Regions from separate parts of the Homo sapiens genome. Here all the other regions are linked to region 3. Evidence: promoter capture Hi-C in 16 types of primary human blood cells and fetal thymus (Javierre and others, 2016). All regions are on one chromosome and are shown on one strand. Each heading gives the region's core, a stretch centred on a gene start or on the middle of the fragment in contact. The rest is flanking DNA. Distances are from core to core; before and after follow the strand shown.

The links. Contacts are between HindIII fragments. The CHiCAGO score rates a contact against its expected background, and 5 or more counts as called.
Region 1: a contact is called between a fragment that was not itself captured here and the fragment with the promoter of ADRB2 in region 3, in 1 of 17 cell types (naive B cells). The highest score is 5.0, in naive B cells.
Region 2: a fragment that was not itself captured here is called in contact with the fragment with the promoter of ADRB2 in region 3 in 3 of 17 cell types (non-activated CD4 T cells, naive CD4 T cells and total CD8 T cells); the score reaches 8.7 in non-activated CD4 T cells.

The regions. Positions count from the first base shown.
Region 1 is chr5:148,389,566-148,393,663 of GRCh38, forward strand. All of the region lies in intron 1 of FBXO38 (F-box protein 38), which reads left to right. Among named protein-coding and RNA genes, the nearest start is that of FBXO38, 7.7 kb to the left of the region's middle. The HindIII fragment of the contact is 522 bases long and covers 1,351-1,872 here.
Region 2 is chr5:149,265,337-149,269,294 of GRCh38, forward strand. No RefSeq gene overlaps it. Among named protein-coding and RNA genes, the nearest start is that of AFAP1L1, 4.5 kb to the right of the region's middle. The HindIII fragment of the contact is 594 bases long and covers 1,193-1,786 here.
Region 3 is chr5:148,824,777-148,828,550 of GRCh38, forward strand. It overlaps ADRB2 (adrenoceptor beta 2), which reads left to right and starts at 1,835. Exons shown (of 1, transcript NM_000024.6): 1 at 1,835-3,774. The coding sequence starts at 2,056. The coding sequence ends at 3,297. RefSeq lists enhancers at 1,134-1,293, 2,150-2,735 and silencers at 1,564-1,873, 1,964-2,103. The HindIII fragment of the contact is 9,818 bases long and covers 1-3,774 here.

The DNA of each region.
Region 1 (4,098 bases), core at 362-2,861, 440 kb before region 3:
TTACTGAGTTTCTCAAGTGAGTTGAAGGCAGGGTGTTTAGTGGCAAGTGGTATTTTGGAGGTAGGAGTGAGAAAAAAACACAAGGCTAGTGATGGCAGTTTTCTCCTCACTTTCTTTGGTTCCTCTTCCAACTAAAAAGAAAAGCAAATAAGAGAAAGGGTGCACATTAAAAAGGGATACCGGCCGGGCGTGGTGGCTCACGCCTGTAATCCCAGCACTTTGGGAGGCTGAGACGGGTGGGTCACTTGAGGTCAGGAGTTCGATAGCAGTCTGGCCAACATGGTGAAATGCCGTCTCTACTAAAAATACAAAAATTAGCCGGGTGTGGTGGCATACGCCTGTAGTCCCAGTTACTCGGGAGGCTGAGGTGGGAGAATTTCTTCAACCCAGGAGGCAGAAGTTGCAGTGAGCCAAGATCGCGCCATTGCACTCCAGCCTGGGCAACACAGCGAGACTCTGTCTTAAAGAAAAAAAAAAAAAAAGGTACCATCACCACTTACTTGGGACTTGTGGTGTGTGAATTTCAAGTGTTCTTTCTCATATAGGGAAACCAGGTCCCTATTCATCAGTACCTGAGATGAAATACTCAGCATAGCCCAGCTGGGTATTTCACTTAAATGAAGATGAAGCCAACTTTAGCTGAAGCAACTTTGTTGTCCTTTATCAAGACTGAGTAAGGGTGGGGGAAAATAAAATATTTTTTGACCGAGGAAGCTTTTTATCTCCTGAACATTTTCAGAGACATCTACTTGGACTTGAGAAGGCTGCTAGATTTCTCCAGGCTATAAGTCCTGTCAATCTCCTATATATAAGATAGAGATGTTTTCTTTTACCCTAGTGTTTATCTCCACAAGTTCCTTCCCCACGATAGGCTTAGGGTAGGGGCCTCACTATTCACCTGCCTGGTAAGAACTAAAAGACCCAAGTCTTCAATTCTAGCCGTGATGTAAGAAACAGGAATAGTTTTACCTAAAATTTTGTCAGTCCTGCTAATTTAAAATTTAGGCTTTTTGCTAGTTAGTGTTAAAGGATATTGTAGGTTAAGAAGGTTTTTGTCAGCTTCCTGGAGATCTAACCTCAGTATAATATTGTATAACATCATTTCTGTGAGTAAATATTTGTTAACTCTCAATAAGTGGAGTTTTATAAACTCAATGATATTTAAGGTGCAGGGTATTTAGTCTAAAAATTTACGTATAGTTTGTGCACTAGGGCTACTAAATCTAATTCACACAAAAGCACCACATTGCAGAATCCTAAGGAACAATCAAAGGTGGAATCAGTAGAGGAAGGTGTTATTAGGTGGTGTGAATTTGAGGAAGAAAAAGGAGGAAGAAGGGATTAAAAAAAAGCTTTTTATTAAAGGAATAAAGAATCGAGCATCATCTCGATGAAGGATTGTCAAGATTCTTAAAGCTGAACATGTGCTAAAGTATAACAACTGGTGGATTGGTCTGAGCATCTAGGTAATTTGTGGGTGGATTAGTCTTTGCTGGTTAATCGTCCTGTTGAGGCTTTTACATGCTACAGAGTAGCTGTTAGGTGTGTCACTGCAGTAAAATCTGATTGCATTATTGTCTAGGTTATAAGTTTGTTGCTGAGATCATTGAATGCTGTGGTAGCAAACGTCTCATAAGAGCATGAAATGGTTTTTAGCAGCAGCCTCGAAGCTACTGGATGTATATAGAATAATGGAAAGACTGGTGGATATTCATACATTAGATATTTGAGGATATATTGTGAGCAAGGACTTGTTGTCACCTAGAGGCAAGATTTTTTAGCAGAAACATGACTAATAAATCACTACACAAACTGCTGTGGAAGCATATGTTAAGTCCCACAGGGAGCTCAAATGAAGGAGTCAGTAGGGGAAGCTTTTACAGAGGACTTACATTTAAGCTAGATTTTTACAGGCAGTTTTCTAGGCAAAGTAGGGAAAAGAAGGACATTTCCAGTCAGAGTTAAAAGCATATTAGGAATGAAACACCAATGGTTGTTTGGGGGAACTAAGAAGATACTGGTCTGCTAGAGTGAGTATACTGAGAGCAAGTGGTAAGGATTGGAAGAAGATAAGATTGGAACATCTGGTGTTTTGAGATTAGATTGGAAATATTTTATCCTCTGAACCAGGATTCCTTGTAGGCCGATTGTTTTGTTTTGCTTGGCCATGTATATTGTACTTCTTAAAAACAATCTGAAAATTTCAAATGATGGAGAATAATATGAAGTGAAAAGTAAAAGTTTTTTTCTGCTTTCCTAAACCTCTGTTATCACTCCTCAAAGGTTACCGGTTAATATTTTGTTGTCTTCTTTCATAAAATGTTGTATGCAGACACAGTATATTTGTCTTTTTTATCATACTTTTTAAAAAAAGTTTTAGGGGGTAATCTTTTTAATTTTTAAAATTATGTTGTTGTTAGAATCATACTTTAGATGTAGTCTGTGTTTTGCTTTTTTCACTTAACACTATAAATCAGGAGACTGTTTTAAAAAGATAACTGGCTTCAGTATAGAGTATAGCATGGTAAGCATTTATTCAATAAATTACTTATGGCAGGCATAGTGTCTGCTAAGCTTTTCCTCGACCCTGAGGATACAGTGATGGGTATCATTTAGGAAGCCATTTCCGTAGTGCACGTGAATGTTAATGGAGTCCCAAAAGGTAATGGGAATGGATGTAAGAACTGTATTGAGATAAAATTGATAAAAATAGCCCATCAATTGTCTGTGGGAAATGAGAAATCAGAATATATTTAGGATGATTTCAAGGTTTACAATTCAGGAATTCAGTAAAACACATTAGGGAAATAGGTGTGTTTATTTGTATATATCTGTGTATCTTTGTTTTGGGGAGGGGGAGGGTTCGTGATATGAAGGAGTTCATTTTGAACATAGTGTTTTTGAAGGATGTTCAAGTTATTGAGGTGAAAATTTCTGATAGGCAGAGGAAATAAAGTTCAGAGCTCAGGAGAGGTAAGAAGTAGAGTTGGAAATTTTTTCTTTTTTTGCTTTTCTTTGTGTGTGTGTGTGTGTGTGTGTGTGTGTGTGTGTGTGTATTTGTAATAGCTAAATCCTTGGGAATGAGTACAATTGCCCAGGGAGAAGAGGGCTCGAGGATAAATTAGCAAAGGAGACTGAGCAGTGGTCATAGAGGAACGACAAGAATCGAGAATATCACTTTCGGAGCCAAAGGATGAGAGGGTTTCAAAGGAGTGGTCAGCGGTGTCCCATAATACAAATGGGTCAGATGGGGAAGCACTGGAAAGAGGCTATTGGATTTGTTGACTACATGTTCAATGTAACCTTAGAGGTTTCAGGAGCTATCATAAGATGGAAAGATTCATTTGGAGGAGGCAGGGCAGTAAACAAGAAAAGGTGGGCAGTGGTTAATCAGAAGCAGGTGAGTTTATTTATAGCTTTTCTTTTAGCTTGGGCAGTTCTGAGTATGAACTTTATTTTTCCGGAGGCCTCTTAGCCAAAATGTGATAGACAACATAGGAGTAAGCTTCTGAGAAGTTAAGACACATGTCACAAATTCAGGGTAGCATAGCCCATATACCAGTCCACACACATTGATTTCTCTGGTTTCTCAGGCCGTACTGGTTAGAAACAACAGAAGAGGGGTGTGTGTGTGTGTGTGTGTGTGTGTGTGTGTGTGTGTGTGTGTGTGATGAGAGGCAAGCATGCTGACAGCCTCAAGAAGTAAATAGCACATAACCTTTCAGTGAGGGAAGAAGAGACCAGAACACACACACACAGGCAGAAGAAATGATGAAGATTTACTTAGCCTAGTAGAGTGTCCATTTACTGCTGAGGCAAAAAAAACCTCAGGAACTGCATATACTTAAAGTACCCTCTGCCCACCAGGTGCCTTTCTCCTAGTGAGTTCTTTCCTACTTTTTGCAGTGTTAATTCCTGCTCTCCCTTCAGTTATGGGCTCAATTGTCTTTCCCTCAGGAGAACCATTAGTGACTCAGGCCCCTTTGTTATATGAGGCTTCACAACTGTGTTTACTGTCTTTGCAGCAGTTATCTCCGTGTGCAATTCTGAGCTCATTTGCGTGGTTATTTAATTGTGTATCTCCACTTAACTCTGGGC
Region 2 (3,958 bases), core at 240-2,739, 440 kb after region 3:
CGCAGTGTGACATGAATCACTAGGGAACACATAGGAAGGGTAAAAGCTTGCCTCAGTCTGTCACTGAAAAGTGTTTGTAGGGCCCAGACCTAGAGCCTTCTGGTTTTCCAAAACCTCCTTATGGATACAGAATTCCTTGTCATACAAAAGAAGCGTGACTGCCTCCCTAAGGCACAGGGTCTTGCCCACCTGGATCAGGACAAATTGTCCATCTGGCCCTAGCAATCTGTCATTGTAACAAAATAATGGGACTATGTAACGTTTTTAAATGTGCATACAAAACACCACTCCTTTGCAGACTCCGTGGGTAGCAGCATTTGGAGGCCTGGTAGTCCTCCCATCCGGGAGCACTGGGAGCTCCTTCAGGGAAGGAGGAACCTGGCAGAATCAGTTGCATTTCCAGGGGTTGGATTTATATAAAACTCCCTGCAGGGGGCAGCCTGGGTATGTGGCCACGGTTTCAGCATCCCTTAATATTTTTCCATAAACATCTGACGAATTCTTCAGAGGAAACCCACACTGATTACATAATAACCAACACTTCTGACCATGGCTCAGACACTGTGCTAAGCACCTTACAGATCTCATTTAACCCCCTGGTACTACTTTCATCCTTATTTTACAGATGAGGAAATTGGGCCCTTGATAAATAACTCATCCAGTGTTTCACAGCTGTATGTGGCAGAGCCTGCACTTGATCTTAGAGATGCCTCACCCAAAGCCCGTGCACTCGGCTATATCATACAAAATCTCCTCCCTGAATATACTGCCAGCTGGCATTTGAAGAAAACGTACCATGTGCTGGCATGGCATCAGCCACTCCACACTCTACATGCACAGTTACACTGAAGCATCACAACTGCTGTGTGGGGAAGATGTTTGTAGCCCCAATTTTTAGATGAGGAATCTGAGGTTCAGAGCGGTTGAAGATCGTGCCTGGACTGTGCAGGGGCGGGGCTGGGTAACACTCAGATCCACCTTGTCCTAAAGTCATGCTCTTCACCACTGTGTCCCACACACTGAACAGAGTGGCTCAGGTGACCTCATATCAGGGCATCACTGCTCCTGGTTCTGGCTCTAAGGCCTTCTGTGATTTCAGGTAAGATTTCTCCCCTTCTCTCAGCCTCAGTTTCCCCAACTGACAAATGAAGGGACCAGATGGGCTAATGTCTCAGGTTTTGGGGGGCTTTAAAGCTTTTCTAGCTCCAGGTTATAAAATCCACTTTGGACCTCTGCAACCTGGCACCAGCCTGCAGCCACAGATGAAGCTAGGGGCGTGCAGCCCAGATCTTCAGAAGAGAGTTAGTCCACGCTGCAGTGTTAGGAGCTGCACACCCTCCTCAGGCCTCAGCGTGGAGGCCCCCAGCTGGACAGACCCTCCAGATGTCTTCATGGGTCCCTAATTTCCCTCAAGTTTCCACATTGGGGCCTGGGGGTGGCTATAGTCCAGATTAAGTTCACAGGGGTGTTTTAGTTGGCTACTGCAATGTTTAAAACAATTGGAATTCATTACCAACACTTTTAAATCAAAAGAGATTTCTCACTGAAATCTAGATTTCTGGGTTCTGCTGAAAAAGCTGAAGATTGGCCACTCCATTTCCAAGCTGACTGGTGACTGGCCCCTCAGACGGAGCAAGAGGGCTCCGCTTTGCTGTGGCCCCTCCACTTGCATGGCCTGCTTCCTGCACACCCTTCCCTGCCCGGCCCTGTAGGTGCTTCAGGGCACGAGCCTCGCTTCAGGAGCCTAAGATCTCGCTTAAGGAGAAGAATCCAAAGGGATGGAGTAAGCTTCATGCAGCATTTCAGCATAAAACAAAAGCTCCTTTTCCTTCAGACACAACCACTGGGCTTGGTTTTAACAACTGTGGAAGCTGAGCCCTGTTGCCTCCATGCAAGTAGGAGCCCCGTGCCCTGGAGCAGAAACCTGAAGGCGCATGGGAAGAAGGAGTTTTCATCCATCCATGAAACTCTTTCTCTTTCTCCCAGAAACAGCCACTGAGATCTCTATCTGCTTTCCGGGGCCCAGGGTGGGCCAGCAGACGTGTGTCATTTCCCTGGATAGGGGCTATAATGGCAACATTGTGCTAAGTGGAACAAGAGAGGTTTTCATTGCAGCCAGCATCAGGCAGACACCCGATCAGAGGGCTCTGGGGATCACCCCACACAAAGGAGCATGGGAGAGGGGCCCTGAGCCAAGGAGAAGCCACACATCCACAGCAGCACACAGGGGCTGGGCAGCACAGCAGCATGTCTCCAGAAGGCCTGGTCACAAGTTCATTTCCCCCTGCAAATAAATAAGCAAATACGACAATCCCAGAGGACAAATGGGACCCCCAGGACACATGCATTAATAGAAGCCAAAACTGGCAGGCCTTACACACCCTTGAGTATGTTTTCACTGACTCATTCCACAAATACTATTACCATTTACTAGGTGTTTGGGCACTGTGCTAGATTCTAAGGATCTAGCAATGAGTAAGACAGCGCCCGCTCTCACAGCATTTGCAGTCTGGTGGGGGACAGGGAAGCATAGGTAAAGAAGCACATAAGAAATTATGTACTATTGACCCAGTGGAAGAACTGAGATTCACACGGCAATGAAGTTGACTTAGGAACCCAGATCTGAGCACCCATCTGTTGTTTTTCTTACTCTTCCTGAAGTCTCCTGAGATCACTGCAGGCTCAGTGAAGAAGGCACCCCAAACACCATAATAAGAAATCTGGACTCTCCGCTGAGGGCCCGGGGAGCCATCACATATTTTTAAGGGGGTAGTTGCACGGTCTGATTGGGATCATGGAATGGTCGCTCTGTTGGCCATGGTGGAAACAGTCCCTAGAGGTAAGGTGACAGGTTAGGAGGCTAGAGTATATTTCTCTCCCTGGAACAAATAGTCCTGAGCCTCCAAATTTTTCTTTCCCAGGGTTTCCCAGTTCCACCTGATAAGCGAAGAATGAGACTAGGGAGTATCATTTGTTTTCACAAGACAGGGAGCAGGAGGGAGTTGAAAGCTTTCTTCCTGGTATTGTTCACTAAGGCTAAATTTGATACCTTCTTACAGAGCTGGAGCTCCCCACATAGCATTCTTTAGACAAAATCCAGGCAAACCTGGAAAACTTGGAAGTCAGCAAAGTAGGTAGTGAAAAGGAAGATATGAGGCAGATTCTAAAAATCCTTGCCAGAGAGTTGCACTCAAAATGAAATGGAAAGGGGAAGAGAAAAGCAGGTATCACAACCTTCATTCCTATCCTTGCCCTGATGCTTATCCCCCAATAACCCACGATCCAGCCAACCTGAACTGCTTCACAGACACGTCCTGCTGCCTTTGAGCTCAATGTCTTTGCTCTCACTGCTCTTTGCCCATAATGTTATCTCCTCATTACACATTCTCAGTTGCCTGCCTTCCAAATATCTGTCATCCATTACAGCCTCCATGATTAGTAAAAAAGTCTTACTTTGTCTGATGGACTCCAAGACCACTTTATTTCTCCTCTGGTACTTTTCATACAATAATTTATATTATATTATTTTATACATGTCTGTCTCCTCTACTAGATTGTAGATTCCCTGAGGGTGAGAATCATTCCTACTTAGCATTTCTTCTCTCAATAGAAACTTGCACAGAGTGCAATCAATATTGCCTAAGCGAATTTATGGGCAGTGTGGATTGTTAGTTTTTATGAGGAATATAGAACTCACTAAAGGAAACATACAGAAAAAAAAAAAAGTTATTCCTTGTCCAAACCCGCAAATAACTTTTTCATCCATCTCAGTTACTCTGACAGCAACCAAGCTGTAGACAACTAGTCAACATTGCCACCTAGTGGACATTATGGGTAATTATTTAAACCAGAACCCCTATACCTTGCCAGCAACAATTTTTTGTTGATTCTCAGAACTGTGCACAGACTGTGTTCTCCCATTTCTATATCCTTCCCAGACCACAGCTCAGTTAATTCC
Region 3 (3,774 bases), core at 585-3,084:
ATTGCCCCTGGGCAAGCCATTTTCCTCTTTGAACCTCATTTGTGAATTAAGCTAAAAATAGTCCCCACCCCCATGGGACTGTGGGAAGGATTAAATAGAATAATGCATGAAAAGCAAATAGCAGAATGGTCCATAAATGTTAACCATTGTTATGTTATTATGTAATCTACAAAGTACGTTTAGTTACACTTCATGAAATACTTTCAGTTTTTCAAAGACACCACTAATACATGGGAAATCAAACCCTGAAAATTAATTTCACTTTAGCAGTAAAGTCACATGCCAGATGGAAAGGATAGTATTTCATGAACAAAGATCTTACTTTTGAGATTTGGTCTTACTTTTTTCTTTTTCTTAAGGGAGAATTATCTTGTGTTTTTTGTTTTGTTTTGTTTTGAGATGGAGTCTTGTTCTGTCACCCAGGCTGGAGCGCAGTGACGTGATCTCGGCTCACTGCAACCTTCACCTCCCGGGTTCAAGAGATTCTCCTGTCTCAGCCTCCCGAGTAGCTGGGACTACAGGTACGTGCCACCACACCTGGCTAATTTTTGTATTTTTAGTAGAGACAAGAGTTACACCATATTGGCCAGGATCTTTTGCTTTCTATAGCTTCAAAATGTTCTTAATGTTAAGACATTCTTAATACTCTGAACCATATGAATTTGCCATTTTGGTAAGTCACAGACGCCAGATGGTGGCAATTTCACATGGCACAACCCGAAAGATTAACAAACTATCCAGCAGATGAAAGGATTTTTTTTAGTTTCATTGGGTTTACTGAAGAAATTGTTTGAATTCTCATTGCATCTCCAGTTCAACAGATAATGAGTGAGTGATGCCACACTCTCAAGAGTTAAAAACAAAACAACAAAAAAATTAAAACAAAAGCACACAACTTTCTCTCTCTGTCCCAAAATACATACTTGCATACCCCCGCTCCAGATAAAATCCAAAGGGTAAAACTGTCTTCATGCCTGCAAATTCCTAAGGAGGGCACCTAAAGTACTTGACAGCGAGTGTGCTGAGGAAATCAGCAGCTGTTGAAGTCACCTCCTGTGCTCTTGCCAAATGTTTGAAAGGGAATACACTGGGTTACCGGGTGTATGTTGGGAGGGGAGCATTATCAGTGCTCGGGTGAGGCAAGTTCGGAGTACCCAGATGGAGACATCCGTGTCTGTGTCGCTCTGGATGCCTCCAAGCCAGCGTGTGTTTACTTTCTGTGTGTGTCACCATGTCTTTGTGCTTCTGGGTGCTTCTGTGTTTGTTTCTGGCCGCGTTTCTGTGTTGGACAGGGGTGACTTTGTGCCGGATGGCTTCTGTGTGAGAGCGCGCGCGAGTGTGCATGTCGGTGAGCTGGGAGGGTGTGTCTCAGTGTCTATGGCTGTGGTTCGGTATAAGTCTGAGCATGTCTGCCAGGGTGTATTTGTGCCTGTATGTGCGTGCCTCGGTGGGCACTCTCGTTTCCTTCCGAATGTGGGGCAGTGCCGGTGTGCTGCCCTCTGCCTTGAGACCTCAAGCCGCGCAGGCGCCCAGGGCAGGCAGGTAGCGGCCACAGAAGAGCCAAAAGCTCCCGGGTTGGCTGGTAAGGACACCACCTCCAGCTTTAGCCCTCTGGGGCCAGCCAGGGTAGCCGGGAAGCAGTGGTGGCCCGCCCTCCAGGGAGCAGTTGGGCCCCGCCCGGGCCAGCCCCAGGAGAAGGAGGGCGAGGGGAGGGGAGGGAAAGGGGAGGAGTGCCTCGCCCCTTCGCGGCTGCCGGCGTGCCATTGGCCGAAAGTTCCCGTACGTCACGGCGAGGGCAGTTCCCCTAAAGTCCTGTGCACATAACGGGCAGAACGCACTGCGAAGCGGCTTCTTCAGAGCACGGGCTGGAACTGGCAGGCACCGCGAGCCCCTAGCACCCGACAAGCTGAGTGTGCAGGACGAGTCCCCACCACACCCACACCACAGCCGCTGAATGAGGCTTCCAGGCGTCCGCTCGCGGCCCGCAGAGCCCCGCCGTGGGTCCGCCCGCTGAGGCGCCCCCAGCCAGTGCGCTCACCTGCCAGACTGCGCGCCATGGGGCAACCCGGGAACGGCAGCGCCTTCTTGCTGGCACCCAATGGAAGCCATGCGCCGGACCACGACGTCACGCAGGAAAGGGACGAGGTGTGGGTGGTGGGCATGGGCATCGTCATGTCTCTCATCGTCCTGGCCATCGTGTTTGGCAATGTGCTGGTCATCACAGCCATTGCCAAGTTCGAGCGTCTGCAGACGGTCACCAACTACTTCATCACTTCACTGGCCTGTGCTGATCTGGTCATGGGCCTGGCAGTGGTGCCCTTTGGGGCCGCCCATATTCTTATGAAAATGTGGACTTTTGGCAACTTCTGGTGCGAGTTTTGGACTTCCATTGATGTGCTGTGCGTCACGGCCAGCATTGAGACCCTGTGCGTGATCGCAGTGGATCGCTACTTTGCCATTACTTCACCTTTCAAGTACCAGAGCCTGCTGACCAAGAATAAGGCCCGGGTGATCATTCTGATGGTGTGGATTGTGTCAGGCCTTACCTCCTTCTTGCCCATTCAGATGCACTGGTACCGGGCCACCCACCAGGAAGCCATCAACTGCTATGCCAATGAGACCTGCTGTGACTTCTTCACGAACCAAGCCTATGCCATTGCCTCTTCCATCGTGTCCTTCTACGTTCCCCTGGTGATCATGGTCTTCGTCTACTCCAGGGTCTTTCAGGAGGCCAAAAGGCAGCTCCAGAAGATTGACAAATCTGAGGGCCGCTTCCATGTCCAGAACCTTAGCCAGGTGGAGCAGGATGGGCGGACGGGGCATGGACTCCGCAGATCTTCCAAGTTCTGCTTGAAGGAGCACAAAGCCCTCAAGACGTTAGGCATCATCATGGGCACTTTCACCCTCTGCTGGCTGCCCTTCTTCATCGTTAACATTGTGCATGTGATCCAGGATAACCTCATCCGTAAGGAAGTTTACATCCTCCTAAATTGGATAGGCTATGTCAATTCTGGTTTCAATCCCCTTATCTACTGCCGGAGCCCAGATTTCAGGATTGCCTTCCAGGAGCTTCTGTGCCTGCGCAGGTCTTCTTTGAAGGCCTATGGGAATGGCTACTCCAGCAACGGCAACACAGGGGAGCAGAGTGGATATCACGTGGAACAGGAGAAAGAAAATAAACTGCTGTGTGAAGACCTCCCAGGCACGGAAGACTTTGTGGGCCATCAAGGTACTGTGCCTAGCGATAACATTGATTCACAAGGGAGGAATTGTAGTACAAATGACTCACTGCTGTAAAGCAGTTTTTCTACTTTTAAAGACCCCCCCCCCCAACAGAACACTAAACAGACTATTTAACTTGAGGGTAATAAACTTAGAATAAAATTGTAAAATTGTATAGAGATATGCAGAAGGAAGGGCATCCTTCTGCCTTTTTTATTTTTTTAAGCTGTAAAAAGAGAGAAAACTTATTTGAGTGATTATTTGTTATTTGTACAGTTCAGTTCCTCTTTGCATGGAATTTGTAAGTTTATGTCTAAAGAGCTTTAGTCCTAGAGGACCTGAGTCTGCTATATTTTCATGACTTTTCCATGTATCTACCTCACTATTCAAGTATTAGGGGTAATATATTGCTGCTGGTAATTTGTATCTGAAGGAGATTTTCCTTCCTACACCCTTGGACTTGAGGATTTTGAGTATCTCGGACCTTTCAGCTGTGAACATGGACTCTTCCCCCACTCCTCTTATTTGCTCACACGGGGTATTTTAGGCAGG